Regions from separate parts of the Homo sapiens genome. Here regions 1, 3, 4 and 5 are each linked to region 2. Evidence: promoter capture Hi-C in human tissues and cell types (Jung and others, 2019). All regions are on one chromosome and are shown on one strand. Each heading gives the region's core, a stretch centred on a gene start or on the middle of the fragment in contact. The rest is flanking DNA. Distances are from core to core; before and after follow the strand shown. Region 1 holds the start of GNB1L (G protein subunit beta 1 like). Region 2 holds the start of SLC25A1 (solute carrier family 25 member 1). Region 3 overlaps TXNRD2 (thioredoxin reductase 2). Region 4 overlaps COMT (catechol-O-methyltransferase). Region 5 has its middle 14 kb from the start of SEPTIN5.

Region 1 (2,700 bases), core at 171-2,670, 680 kb before region 2:
GCGCTGAGCTGTAGACTGAGCTGCCTTGAGGCTGAGGTAAGCTGAATTTGTGGGAACCCCCACCTTTCCCTTGAGGGAGGAAGTTTAAATTATCAGGTCAATTAGGAAAGATACAACCGAAAAAAATCCAAATTTCATTCCCACTTCAAGGAGGCGTTTCCTGGCTCGGTGCCACTTTTATTATTTTTGGCCCAGGCTGCTGAAAGCCCCACAGACCCAGGGAAGGTACAATGTGACCTTTGATTCGCGTTTCAGGGATCAAAGTGAGTGAGTTTGGGTGTAAATGCAGATAACATTTCAGAGAGCTTTCATGAAAGGAGTCACTGGACCAGGGCAGAAAGGGAGCTGGTGTGTTACGTGTGTGTTCCCCTTGAGAAGCGTCACTTTCCGGTGAATCCGGCTGCCTGCCCGTGGCCCCAAGGACTCCTGGCTTGCATCCAGGTCCTTGGCCCACAGGCATCAGATCCTGAGCTGGGGCGCCTGCACCCTCTCCCACCTCTTCTCTAGGCACCGTGAAGCCGAGGAGAGGTGGCGTGGGACGGCTTGTGCAAGTGAGAAGAGCACCACCACTTCATCCTCACCTATCTTGTCCCAGGATCTGGGTGCTGACTCGGCAGGCTTGGGCTGGGCACGGCCCTGTGGGGAGGGCTTGGTAGCCTGCCCTCGCTGTCGTCTCCGGGTCCAGCCTCGGCCTGAGTCGGGAAGCACACAATTATATCCACAACAAGGAGGCCCAGAGGCCCTGCCTGCAGCCCCCAGGTATGCAGGTAGAGGGTCCTCTCGGACTGCCTGCCCCCTGCCTCTGGCGCCCAGCCTGCAGCTACGTCGAACCGGGCCCTAACAAGGTTCCCCGCACTGGCAATGAGTGATGAGAGGCACTCCGCGGGCACGCCGTTCCAGGGCGCTCACGAGGCCCAGCAGCCCCGCTATGCCCACATCCACCCCGACACCTGCAGCCCCCCAGGCTTAGCCCGGCCCCGCAGCAGCCCTCTCGACGCCCAGCAGCACCCCAGTGTCTGGCTGACGCCAGGGCAGTAACGGCGGGCTGAAGCAGCATCGGCCCCTCGGTCTACGCCACAGCCGGGTGCAGATTTCCCGGATCTGAGGGACCGCCGGGCACCGTCCGCTGGGGATCATGAGGGGCAGCTTTGGCCCGACCGTCTCGCGCCTGTACACGCGGCCCCACCTGATCCCGTGGCACTTGGCGCGGCGTGGGAATGGGCGCGCTCTCCCATCACCCACCGCGCGGCACTGCCGCGCCAGCAGGGACCGGGAGAGCCTGCGAGGTAGCGGCCACACGGCATACAGCGCAGGCGCGGCCTGGATGGGAGGAGCGCGTGGAGCGTGCCGGGAGCATGCGCCGGGTCGTACACGGCGGCCGCGCGCACGCTGGGGGCGTGGCTGCGCGATGTAATCGGTCTCTGGACGCTGCGCGGCGCTCCTAGGAGCAGGCGTTCCCGACTCCGGCAAGAGGGTCAGTGTGGAGGCGGGAGCCCGGGCGGCCGGCTTGAACTCCGTGCACGCGGGCCTGGAGCTGCGCCCCTGCGTCTTTTCCCGACTTCTGATCCGCAGAGGGGCACTCGGAGCCCCAGCCTGGGTCGCAGTGCCTTCGGTCTGCGGGCCTCAGTTTCTCGGTCCGCGCCGGGGGTTTGTGGGGGCACCTGGAGACATTTGGGCCGTTCTCGCAGTCTCGGGAAGCCGCGCCCGCTCCTTGCCTGGCCTCACGGCGGCCGATCTCGTTCTCCACTTTCTAGGTGGCGCCTGGACTCTCGCCCTCAGAGGGAGGCCCGTCCCACGGTCTGTGGCTACGGATCCCAGGACCCTCTTCGCGGGCGATTCGCGTAGCCTCAGGTGGGTGGGCTTCTTGTTGCCGTGGGCCTTGTGAGCTCGTATTTCCTGCATGGCGGTTGCTGGGGGGCGGGCGGTGCAGTCGTCTGCACTCAGCTTGCTTTAAGGCTTTGGGCAGGTTTTGTTCTTGGGGCTCCTGGGTCTCCCCAGAGCAGAGAACGGCTCCAGCGTTCCAGGTGCTGCCTTTGGCCTTGTGGGGGCAAACACACATGCGCCGTGGTACCTGCCCCTTTAGGATAGTGCTGTCCAGTCTAGAAGGGCCGAAAGTCTTCTATGCCAGGCAGTGTGGGGAGAAAAGTAGGGGGACCAACAGACTGATAGGCGTGGGAGGGCTAAGGTTCTCAAAATGGTGAGAGTGCGGCCCAGGGTTAGGAAGGCTCAGGCCCAAAGCAGGCCTGGCTGGCTGGTGCAGGGAAGCCTTCTCCCAGACTGCAGGGGACACAGGTGCGCAGGTGAGTGGGCAGGGTAGGGGACTGGGAAGAAGGGAAGGCAGAGATCTGGGTAGCACACTGTGGCTCCCGGGCATGGGGTGTGGTCATTGTGGGCAACCTGGATACCTAACCTTGGCTGGTGGTGGGAGCTGGGCCCTGGATCGGGGTCACTGCTTTTTTAGAGCTCAGTGAGGGACTGGACTGGACTCGACTCACGTCCAGGCCTTAGTATAATCCTGCAGTAAGGTGGGAAGCCAGGGTCATGGGCTGGGCTTTCAGGTGAAGACCCCCCCCCCAGAGGGGGGTCAGACCTGAGGGATTCCAGAGTGTTTGGGTGGTGGAGGTAGGGCCAGTGGCCCTGGCAGGTTCTAGTGCTGCAGGCCACCCTGGGAGGTACCTGGAGGAACTCACCCTGAGGGGG
Region 2 (2,700 bases), core at 163-2,662:
TGGCTGACCCCACGCTCCTTGCCTCTGGATGCCTGCTCTCTTGGGGCCTCAGCGTCTGGGTGGTAAGGGCTGGTCCTATAGACCCTGCTCCCTGGGCCCCGGGCTACTCAGGGGCAGCCAGGAGAGGACCCCCATGGGCAGGAAGAGCTCTGCTCATTGTGGGCTTCCCCCTCTGCAGGCCCTGCCGTGGGCCCAGCCCCTGCCAGCTTCCCCTATGGATATGCCTCTGCTCCCAACTTCGCCAGCCTCCAATGTACAACTTCCGCGTGTAGTGGGCGTTGTCACCACCCACCCTACCTGCAGAGTTACTAACTTCTCCAAGGAGCATGTCACTCCAGCAGCACAGGGGACGCAATGGGAGGCAGGGACACCTGGACAATATTTATTTTTGCTGAAACCCAATGACGGCAACCTCTGAGCCATCCCAGAGCCTGGGGAGGCCAGGGTAGAGGCTGACGGCGCAAGACCAGCTTTAGCCGACAACAGAGACTGGACTGTGGGCCCTCCTGCTGGAGCCAGGCCTTCCTCCTGGGCGCCTCCGACTGGCTGGAGCTGCCCCCTCCAGGCCAGTTTGAAGACTACATGAACACGTCTTGTTTGGAGGTACCGGACCTCATAAAAGGACTCTCAGCCTCTTGGCAATCATAAATATTAAAGTCGGTTTATCCAGGCAAAGGTGCTCTGCTTGGTGCTGGTATGGGTAGGAGGGACGGGCCAGTTTCCTAGGCCCCGCAGTCCATTAAAGATTTGCTGGGTCCTCTTTGGGGTGTGGGACCTCCGTTGCCCAGACAAGCTGCCTAGGAGAATACAGCCGCTTGCATTTGTGGTCTTTCCTGACCTTGTTCGCTGAGCGCAGAAACTACAACCGGGAAAGGTGTGGGTGGGAACCGGCAGGTGAGGCCCGGCCCGTGGCTGCTGCGGGAGGGGGGCCCGGCGGCGTAGCCCCTTCTCACCGGCCTCCCGCCTCCCGCCTCCAGGTTTGAAACGTTAGAGTTCCTCTGGGACTGGGCTAGCCCCACGTGTTTTCGGGGAGGGTGTGCCCCTGGCCTCCGGGATCCCTGGGGATCCCGCCGCTCTCGACAGTCGCGCAGACCCGAGGCCCGCTATCCCGCGGCGCGGCACACAGTGCACCTTGACCCACTGCTCGGAGCTGGGCCACGGCTCCGCCTCCCGCAGCCCCGCCCCCGTCCCGCCGCTCGCGGTCGCCCAGGGACTCGGCCTCGGCCATTGGCTGCGCTTTGGCCCCGCCCCTACGCCTGCCTCGGCGCGCCCCGCCCAGGCCTCAGTTTCCCGGCCCGCACGGGGCGGGCTGGGGGCGGGGCCTGGCTCGGACCACGCGGGGCGGGACCTGGAGCTGACGCGGCCGCCCCGCCCCTGGGACCATAACCGGCCGCCGCCGCCACCGCGGACCGAGCGCGGAGTTCTGGAGTCTCGGACCCGAAGCCGCCACAGGGCGCCCCGCCTCCCGCCCGCCATGCCCGCGCCCCGCGCCCCGCGCGCTCTGGCGGCCGCCGCGCCCGCGTCCGGGAAGGCCAAGCTGACGCACCCGGGGAAGGCGATCCTGGCAGGTGGGCCCCTCCGGGACGCGGACCCCTCTCCCGCCGCGCTTCTGGGTGGGCCCGGGACGCTGAGGCCCCGCCCCACTTCCGGGTTGGGCCGTGGGCTGGGGAGTCGTGGAGGCGCGGTCCTGGTCCCCACCCGGCGCGCTGGGACTCGCCCGCCTCCCGTCTGTCACCCCCTGCGCCTCGCCGGGACAACGGGGTGAGGGCATGGGGGCGTGGGGCCCCAGCCTATGTTCCCCGCGGCACTGGCGCGGCGGCCGCGCCGACCGAAGTCCGGGACGGGGGAGGGGCCCGAGCGCCAGCGGCCGGGCGGGAGTCTCAGGAGCGGGTTCCCGGTCCCTGCAGGCGGCCTGGCGGGTGGCATCGAGATCTGCATCACCTTCCCCACCGAGTACGTGAAGACGCAGCTGCAGCTGGACGAGCGCTCGCACCCGCCGCGGTACCGGGGCATCGGTGAGGAGGGGGAGGCCGCGGCGCCGCGGGGGGCGGGTACCCAGGGCGGCGGCACCGAGGGCCGTGGGGTCCTGACCGCCCCCTCCCCCAGGGGACTGCGTGCGGCAGACGGTTCGCAGCCATGGCGTCCTGGGCCTGTACCGCGGCCTTAGCTCCCTGCTCTACGGTTCCATCCCCAAGGCGGCCGTCAGGTGAGGCCCGGCCGGTGGCTGCTGCGGGAGGGGGGCTCGGCCGCGGCAGCCCCTCTCACCCGCCTCCCGCCTCCAGGTTTGGAATGTTCGAGTTCCTCAGCAACCACATGCGGGATGCCCAGGGACGGCTGGACAGCACGCGTGGGCTGCTGTGCGGCCTGGGCGCTGGCGTGGCCGAGGCCGTGGTGGTCGTGTGCCCCATGGAGACCATCAAGGTGGGGAAGGTCCTGGCGAGGACCCCGGACACGCAGGGAGTACGGAGACGGGCGGCCCCGCTGGCCCGGTGCTCCCGGGGCAACCGGCAAGCTGGGGAGGGTCTCCTGGACGCCAGGGAAGGCCGGCGGGGTGACCGCGGGGCCCTGGGGCAGGACGCCTGCCACGAAGGGCCACCCGTGGAGGCTGAGTCTATGCTAAAGGCAGCCTTAAAGTCTTTAAAAAATACTTTTATAAAGCAGAAAACAAAATGACACCTTCACTGCCAAAACTGGAAAAGA
Region 3 (2,700 bases), core at 110-2,609, 760 kb before region 2:
GCTTAAACAATGCTAAATATAATTGGGAGTGGGGAGTAGTTAAATTATGCTTTTAAACCAGCCTTGTCTTCTTTTACAGTAACTTGAAGAGGTTTAGTAATTTTTTCACGTTTTGGACCGAGACCGAGTCTGGAAACAAACCCCATGTTTTCCATTATATGTTGACTGGGAGCACTGTAAAAGTTATGTGGAATATTAATTTCAGCCCCAATTTGTGCCAGCAAATCTCTGCCCCGAAGATTAATGGGGATGGGCATGATATAAGGCTGAATTGTTCCCTTTTGACCATCAGGGCCAGTGCAAGCCAAGATAAATGTGCTCTGGTGAACTTCTTCAGCTTTTCTAACACCTTCTAGTTTCATGTTAGTGGGATGTTTAAGCCAGGAGGAAGGCCATAAATTAGAGGAAATAATAGAAACATCAGCCCCAGTATCAACTAGGCCCTCAACCTTTTTTCCTTGAATGTGTATGGTGCAGGTAGGCCATTGTTTAGAAATTACATTAATCCAATAAGCGGCTTTTTCACCGCTGGAGCCCATCCCAGGGCCCCATGTCTTATCTCCTTTGTTTAAAACAATGTTAGGTAGTAAAAGTAATTGAGCAATTGACTCACTGGCCGGAATGGAAACAGGAACTTTGGCAGACACCATAAGTTTACATAAGTTTAATCTCATCAGAGGAATCAGAATTAATGAGACTAGTATGAACTATGATACCTTTAGTATCATGAGGTGGATGCCCTGCCTAACACCAGGCCCACCGAACCTTGAGGTAAAGGGCCAGTGACCCCCATGGGGACAATTAAAGGCAAAGAATTAGGTAGTAAATTTAGAGGAATGGTACTACAGAGATCGACCGCCCTGCTGCCTACTGTGGAGGTAGACAAGCATTGTACTGAGACAGAAGAAGAGGCTGGGACCCATCTGGATTGGCTGTAGGTAAATTTGTTTGTGCTGGGGGCTGCGTTGGGACTGCTTGACGCAAAAACACAACATTGGTCTGAGTCCGAGGTGTCCCATTTGATATTGGGGCCTGGGACTGGCCTTGCTTCCTGTTTCCCTGGTTCTGTGGCAAGGGATTTTCATCTATATCAGACTGAGTGGCAAGTACTTGCCCAATGTTTACCCTTACGACAACGCAGGCAAACAGTAGCAGGAGCATTTGGCCGTGTTTGTTGAGCCGGCTTGGCCGCTTTTAAGTTTTTAACAGTGTAGTTTTTTTGGGTATGACCAAGTTGGCCACAATTATAGCAGGCTCCAAGAAAAGAATCAGTCGAGCCAGTTTGGTTGCCGTGCTTCATGGCCGGTGCCCACAGAATAGCTCTGTGGGTCTCCGATCCAACGCCTTCACAAGCTTTAATATATGCAGGCAACACCTCATGATCAGGTAAATTTTGACGTAGGATGGAATGCACGGCCATTTTACACTCATGGTTCGCATTTTGAAAAGCTAACATATGAAGAAGAATACCTTGAGTGTGCTCATCAGAGACAGATTTTTCAACAGCATCTTGTAATTTAGCTAAAAAATCAAGATATAATTCATTGTGACCCTGTTTAACAATAGTAAAAGAAACAGAAGCTTGGCCTGGGGTGCGTAATTTATCCCAAGCTCTCATACACACCTTTGTTACTTGTTCCGTGGTGAGAGCATCAAAGCCTAAATGAGCAGTAGTATCAGAGTAATTATCGGAGCCTGTGAGCTGAGCCTGAGTAATTGGAATGCCATCAGCCCGATTTAGCTGAGCCTGCAGGCGGGCCTCCTCTGACCACCAGGTATGGAATTGTAAATGCTGAGATGGAGTTAGAACAGCTTTTGCCAAAAGGTCGCAGTCTATAGGAAGCAAAATGACCTCGGTACAAAGAGTCTGTAATACCGTTTTAACATATGGAGAAGTAGGAACATACTGAGTACAAGCATCCTTGAATTCTTTTAAAAAGGTAAGATTGAGCGGCGTATATCGACACACTTGTACCCCTTGAGCATTAGGAGGTTCCAGCATGACCGAATAAGCCCACGCCTCTAATCTACTTGTTTGTTTTGGCGTAATAAGCATTGCATGAAAGTTTCAAGAGCAGGCACATGAGATAGAGTCGGCATAGAAGTGACAGGAAAAGTATGTATAGATAAGAGAAACTGAGATTGACGGGGTCGGACTGGTATAAGAGTGTGAGAAAGGGGCATTGGGGGAGCAGAAGAGGCAGAAGCATACTGGTGATTACTGGCCCAGTCCTGCACAACCAGAGTGGCAGGGGTGTCCCTGCATGAAGAAGGGTACAGAGAAGCAGGTTGAGTGGATGGCAAAGTGACCGGTTGAGGGACCAAAATGATAGGAGGGTGAGGGGCTGTGGTGGATGGGGGAGGGCCTGCAGAATTACAGGTAAATTGTAGTTTGGATGGCTCCGGAGGCAAAGACTGTAAAGGTTTGGAGAGGGAAGAGTTAGCATAGATATGGTCCTGGGCTGTCTGAGTTGGGGCCGCAGGAGCTACAAGTGTCGGCTCTTCGTGAAAAGAAATAAGATCATCAGGGGGTGATGTTAAGCCAAAGTCACTGGAGTTAGATATTGAATCCTCAGTATCGTCAGGTGGGGGAGGAGTAGGCAAAGGGAGGGGCTGAGCAGATAATGAAGGCCGAGTGGGAGAGGAAAGCTGAGGAAGAGGTAGAGGGTGGCCAGATTCAGAAAACTGTGGTAACTGCAG
Region 4 (2,700 bases), core at 179-2,678, 780 kb before region 2:
GGCTTGGACGTGCCTCATCCTGCCCTCACAGGGCTGGTGGCCCAGTCGGGGAGACAAGCATAGAGCCACAGGCGTGATGACAAACAGGACACAGATGGCAGGAAGGAGGCCAGTTCTAAGCGTTTACACACGGGGCAGCTCTGCTCGGCACACAGGTCCCCCACGGGGGCTGCAGAGGGCCCTACCTGGGGCTTGCTCAACAGGGCTGGAAACCCCCAGCAAAGGCTGGAACTGCTGCAAGAAGCCCTGCCCTTTGGGGCTGATCCGGTGTGATAAAGGGGGACCAGGATTCTGGCAGGGGATTCGACTGCGATCCAGTAATCCAGGGAGAGCCAGTACAGGTGCGTAGAGACAGGCCAGGCAGCACCAGGTAGGCCACACGCTTGGGCAGCGCCTGTGGACAGGCTGAGAGGACACCTGGAGGCCAGCCTGGGAGACCCCACAGGCTGCAGCCAGGCCCCGCGCTCATCTCTGGACCCAGGGGCTGGCCACTCACCTCCATCCAGCCTCTGGGAATCTAAAGGAATGACCAGAAGTTTAATGGCCACAAAATACCCATTGAGCCAGGCATGGTGGTGTGCCTATAGCTGCAGCTACTCAGGAGGCTGAAGTGGGAGGATTGCTTGGGCCCAGGAGTTGGAGGCTGGAGTGAGCCATGATTGCACCATGTCGTCCATCCTGGGCGACAGACACTGTCTCTAAAACAACACCACAATAAAAATGCCATCAAATCCAGATGGGGCCTCGCCTCTTTCTGGCAGCACTCTGGGAGTGTCCCCCTCCTGCCACTGTCTCATAACCCCCAGTACAAGAAGCTGTCATTTCTCCAACCTGCAGAGAGGAAGGAGGAGGCAGAGGACTAGCCTCTCACCCCGGTGACACCTGAGAAGAGGTGAGACAGTGCACCTGCTCTGGGCACCCTGCGAGGGGCCTACCTGCTATTTCTGTAAATGAAGCTTTATCAGAACGCACAATCAACCAGGCACGGTGGCTCACGTCTGTAATCCCAGCATTTTGGGAGGCTGAGGCGGGTGGATCACCTGAGGTCAGGAGTTCAAGAACAGCCTGACCAACATGGTGAAACCCCAGTCTCTATTAAAAATACACAATTAGCCAGACATGGTGATGCATGCCTGTAATCCCAGCTACTTGGGAGGCTGAGGCAGGAGAATCGCTAGAACTCGGGAGGTGGAGGTTGCAGTGAGCCGAGATGGTGCCATTACACTCCAGCCTGGGCAACAAGAGTGGGACTCCATCTCAAAACAAAACAAAACAAAAAACGCACAATTGCACAGACATTGTCCGTGGCTGCTCTCATCCGACCATGGCAGAGGTGAGCAGTTGCAACAAAGACTGCACCCTACATAGGGAAAGGGGCTGGTGTGGAAGGGAAGGGGTCAGAATGGAAGGTCAGATGGCCAGGCAGAGGGCAGCCTCCTGTAGCCTCCCCCGCCTGGTATCCTCAGTGGGGCCAGGCCCCCAGGCTCAGGGGAAGGCTTTTTTTTTTTTTGACTCAATACCTAATAGCTAAAGGGAAGGCTTTCACACGGACTGCACACCTGCTTCAAGCCAGGTGCTGCAGGGACCACGGTGACTTTGTCTTCACAGACACACCAAGAGGCAGATGCAAGGGCTGGGCTGAGAGAGGCAAGAGGCTGCACTGCACCTGCAGATTCACAGCCCCAGGGGGCCAGCTGGGCCATCCCTGCCTGTGGGGCCCCTCCACTCCTTTACTGTGGCCCCGTCGGGGCCCCCTCCCCTCCCTTCCATGGGCCAGACCTGCATGGTGGTCGCACATTCGCTTTATCCTTCAAGGGTGTTCTCCTGGTCACATCCGATTCTGCCTTGGCACCTGCTTGGAGGCCCCCTGCAGGTCAACCTGCTCATGTGGCAGGAGCTCAGTGTCCCGGCTCCCAGCAGAGGGCAGGCCTGGGGCAAGAGTGGAGGCTGGCTTGGCTCAGTGTGGAGGGGACAGAAAGGACAGGGGTGCCTTTAGGGAGGGGCAGAAAGGGCCTGGACATGCCTAGTGGGGTGACGTGCAGGCTGGCCATCTGCCCCGCTGGACTGAGCCCGGGAGCCTGCCCTGCCTGGGAATGGGGACTATTTTGGCAGCTGCTGAGTACTGTAAACAAAGCCGGCTGGGTGCAGTGGCTCACGCCTGTAATCCCAGCACTTTGGGAGGCTGAGGCAGGCAGATCACAAGGTCTGGAGTTGGAGACCATCCTGGCCAACATGGTGAAACTCTGTTTCCACTAAAAATGCAAAAAATGAGCCGGGCATGGTGGCGGGTGCCTGTAGTCCCAGCTACTCGGGAGGCTGAGGCAGGAGAATCGCTTGAACCGTGGAGGTGGAGGTTGTTGCAGTGAGTGGAGATAGTGCCACTGCACTCCAGCCTGGGCAACAGAGCGAGACTCTGTCTCAAAAAAACAACAACAAAAAAACAAAGCCCCAGCATCTGGACCAGGCTCTGGGCCAGGCCTGCATCCAGACCGCACTGGATGTGAGTGGAATCTGACCTCCTCATTGCTCTCCTCAAGGCTGAGTGGCAGCCCCACCCCCAGCGCCCAGGCCATGAGTCCTGAGGCCCACCGTGGCAGCAGCCTGGACAAAGACTCCCCCATCACACTCCGGCCAGGCTCCTCTGAGCACGTTTCTCGGCTGAGCCTCACCTTGGCCTATCAGGCCTTGAACAAACACTAA
Region 5 (2,700 bases), core at 137-2,636, 520 kb before region 2:
AGTAATCTGCCTGCCTTGGCCTCCCAAATTGGTGGGATTACAGGCATGCGCCACTGCGCCCAGCCTGAGTTCTTTATATATTCTAGTACTAGCCCTTTCTTGGATATATCTTTTGCAACTGTTTTCTCCTAGTCTGTAGCTTGATTTTTCATTCTTGTAACAGAACCACTTTTAACAGAGAAATTTTCACAGAGCAAAAGTTTTAATTTTAATGGAGTCCAGTTTATCAATTTTTCTTTTTATGGCTCCTGCTTTTCGAGTCAAGTCTAATAACTCATTCCCTAGCTCTAGATCCTAGAGATTATTCTCCTGTATTTTTTTCCCTGAAAGTTTTATAGTTTTACATTCTAAACTTCAGTTTATTATTCCTTTTTTTTTTTTGAGATGGCATCTCTTTTCTTTTCTTTTCTTTTCTCCTTCCTTCCTTCTTTCCTTCTTTTTCCTTCCTTCCTTCCTTCTTTCCTTCCTTCCTTCCTTCCTCTCTCTCTCTCTTTCTTTCTTTCTTTCTTGAGTCTTGCTCTGTCACCCAGCCTGGAGTGCGGTGGCACGACCTCGGCTCACTGCAACTTCTGCCTCCTGGGTTCCAGAGATTCTCCTGCCTCAGCCAGGCACCCACCACCACTCTCAGCTACTTTTTGTATTTTTAGTAGAGACGGGGTTTCGCCATGTTGCCCAGGCTGGTCTCGAACTCCTGACCTCAGGTGATTGGCCCACCTCGGCCTTCCAAAGTGCTGGGATTACAGGCATGAGCCACTGTGCCCGGCCTGTCATTCTATTTTGAGTCGATTTTTAAATAAGATGTGAGATTGAGGTTTCTGGTTTTGTTTTTGTTTGCCTATTGATATGGTTTGGCTCTGTGTCCCCACAAAATCTCATGTTGAAATGTAATCCCCAGTGTTTGAGGTGATGGTTGGATCATGGGGGTGGATTTCTCATGATTGGTTTACCACCATCCCCTTGGTGGTGTTCTTGTGATTGCGAGTGAGTTCCCATGAGATCTACTCATTTAGAAGTGTTGGCACCTCCCCTAGCTCTTGCTCCTGCTCTGCCACGTGAAATGCCTGACCCCCTTCACCGTCAGCCATGGTTGAAAGCTTCCTGAGGCCTCCCAAGAAGCTGAACAGATGCCACCACCATGCTTTCTGTGAAGCCTGCAGAACTGTGAGCCAATTAAACCTCATTCCTTTATATATTGCCCAGTCTCAGATATTCCTTTATAGCAATACAAGAATGGCCTAACACATCTATATATGTCCGGTTGCTTCAGCACCATTTGTTGTATCCTTTCTTCATTGAGTTGCTTTTGAACTTCTGTCAAAAATCACTAGGGACACGCCCGTTCTCCCAGCACTTTAGGAGGCTGAGGTGGGAGAATTGCTTGAGCCCAGAAGTTCAAGACCAGCCTGGGTGACATGGTGAAATCCCATCTCTACAAAAAAAAAAAAAAAAAAAAAAAATATATATATATATATATATATATATGAAAAATTAGCTGGGCGTGGTGGTGCACACCTGTAGCCCCAACTGTCTGGGAGGCTGAGGGAGAGGATCACTTGAGCCTGGAAGGTCGAGGCTACAGTGAGCTGTGATTGCACCACTGCACTCCAGCCTGGACAACAGAGTGAGACCCTGTTTCAAAAAAAAACCCCAAAAACCCCAAACCAAAAAAACCTATCATGTTGTAAACCTCAAATATACACAATAAAATTTATTTTTAAAACATCACTAGGGCATGTTTATATGGATCTATTTCTGAGTTCTCTACTGTTTCACTGATCTATGTGTCCACCCTTCTGCTAATCCCATATAGTTTTAAATACCATAATTATGGAATAGGCCTTGAGATCAGGCAGATTGTTTCTTCTCACTTGAGCAAGTTGAAGAATATAAGATTGACATACAAAAACCAACTGTGGCTCGATGCCTCATGCCTGTAATCCCAGACCTTTGGGAGGCTCAGGCAGGAGGGTCATTTGAGGCCGGGACATTGAGACCAGCTTGGTCAACATAACGAGATCTTTTCTCTACAAAAAATAAAAATAAAAAAATTTTAAAAATCAATTGTATTTCTTTAAAAATGTAGTATCATTGGGCTGGGTGCAGTGGCTCATGCCTGTAATCCCAGCACTTTGGGAGGCCAAGGTGGGCGGATCACGAGGTCAGGAGATCAAGACCATCCTGGCTAACATGGTGAAACACCGTCTCTACTAAAAATATTTAAAAAATTAGCCAGGCATGGTGGTGGGCACCTGTAGTCCCAGATACTTGGGAGGCTGAGGCAGGAGAATGGTATGAACCCAGGAGATGGAGCTTGCAGTGAGCCGACATCACACCACTGCACTCCAGCCTGGGTGACAGATAGAGACTCCATCTCAAAAAAAAAGAAAAAAAGAAAAAAAGAAAAAAGCAGTATCATTTATAATCTCTCAAAAAGTAAAGTGCTCAGGTGTTAAATCTAACAAAACATGGGTAGGATTTTTATGCTGAAAGCAACAAAATGTGGATGAAATAAACCAAAGAATATCTAAATAAAGAAAGAGATACACCATATTCATGGATTAGAAGACTCAGTATTGTAAAGATGTCAGTTATGCCCAAATACATTCCTATACATCAAAATATAAAAATATAAGCCAGGTTTTTTAGTGGATATTCAAATAGTCATAAGACTATTCTAAAATTTATATGGAAAGGCAAAGG

Evidence for each region. Contacts are between HindIII fragments. The study calls those that stand out against the background at their distance.
Region 1: the fragment with the promoter of GNB1L here is called in contact with the fragment with the promoter of SLC25A1 in region 2 in 2 of the 25 tissues and cell types used here (dorsolateral prefrontal cortex and lymphoblastoid cells).
Region 3: a contact is called between a fragment that was not itself captured here and the fragment with the promoter of SLC25A1 in region 2, in 1 of the 25 tissues and cell types used here (spleen).
Region 4: a fragment that was not itself captured here is called in contact with the fragment with the promoter of SLC25A1 in region 2 in 1 of the 25 tissues and cell types used here (dorsolateral prefrontal cortex).
Region 5: a fragment that was not itself captured here is called in contact with the fragment with the promoter of SLC25A1 in region 2 in 2 of the 25 tissues and cell types used here (dorsolateral prefrontal cortex and stomach).

The regions. Positions count from the first base shown.
Region 1 is chr22:19,853,594-19,856,293 of GRCh38, reverse strand. GNB1L (G protein subunit beta 1 like) reads left to right here and starts at 1,420. Exons shown (of 8, transcript NM_053004.3): 1 at 1,420-1,474; 2 at 1,755-1,851. RTL10 (retrotransposon Gag like 10) reads left to right here and starts at 1,420. Exons shown (of 3, transcript NM_024627.6): 1 at 1,420-1,634; 2 at 1,755-1,851. It overlaps LOC124905080 (a long non-coding RNA gene), which reads right to left and starts at 1,322. Exons shown (of 2, transcript XR_007068005.1): 1 at 582-1,322. RefSeq lists enhancers at 410-889, 2,312-2,700. The HindIII fragment of the contact is 26,560 bases long and covers 1-2,700 here.
Region 2 is chr22:19,177,448-19,180,147 of GRCh38, reverse strand. SLC25A1 (solute carrier family 25 member 1) reads left to right here and starts at 1,412. Exons shown (of 9, transcript NM_005984.5): 1 at 1,412-1,568; 2 at 1,908-2,015; 3 at 2,107-2,206; 4 at 2,283-2,421. The coding sequence starts at 1,475. It overlaps CLTCL1 (clathrin heavy chain like 1), which reads left to right. Exons shown (of 33, transcript NM_007098.4): 33 at 179-675. RefSeq lists silencers at 816-915, 1,116-2,195 and an enhancer at 1,367-2,114. The HindIII fragment of the contact is 9,906 bases long and covers 1-2,700 here.
Region 3 is chr22:19,936,217-19,938,916 of GRCh38, reverse strand. All of the region lies in intron 1 of TXNRD2 (thioredoxin reductase 2), which reads left to right. LOC124905081 (endogenous retrovirus group K member 24 Gag polyprotein-like) reads right to left here. Exons shown (of 2, transcript XM_047441689.1): 2 at 928-2,700. The coding sequence starts at 2,056. The coding sequence ends at 1,091. Among named protein-coding and RNA genes, the nearest start is that of COMT, 4.2 kb to the left of the region's middle. The HindIII fragment of the contact is 4,369 bases long and covers 1-2,700 here.
Region 4 is chr22:19,953,029-19,955,728 of GRCh38, reverse strand. The region is part of intron 1 of COMT (catechol-O-methyltransferase); the gene reads right to left. Among named protein-coding and RNA genes, the nearest start is that of MIR4761, 9.4 kb to the left of the region's middle. RefSeq lists a silencer at 1 and enhancers at 304-955, 1,220-1,841, 1,842-2,465. The HindIII fragment of the contact is 3,711 bases long and covers 1-2,700 here.
Region 5 is chr22:19,698,741-19,701,440 of GRCh38, reverse strand. No RefSeq gene overlaps it. Among named protein-coding and RNA genes, the nearest start is that of SEPTIN5, 14 kb to the left of the region's middle. The HindIII fragment of the contact is 4,442 bases long and covers 1-2,700 here.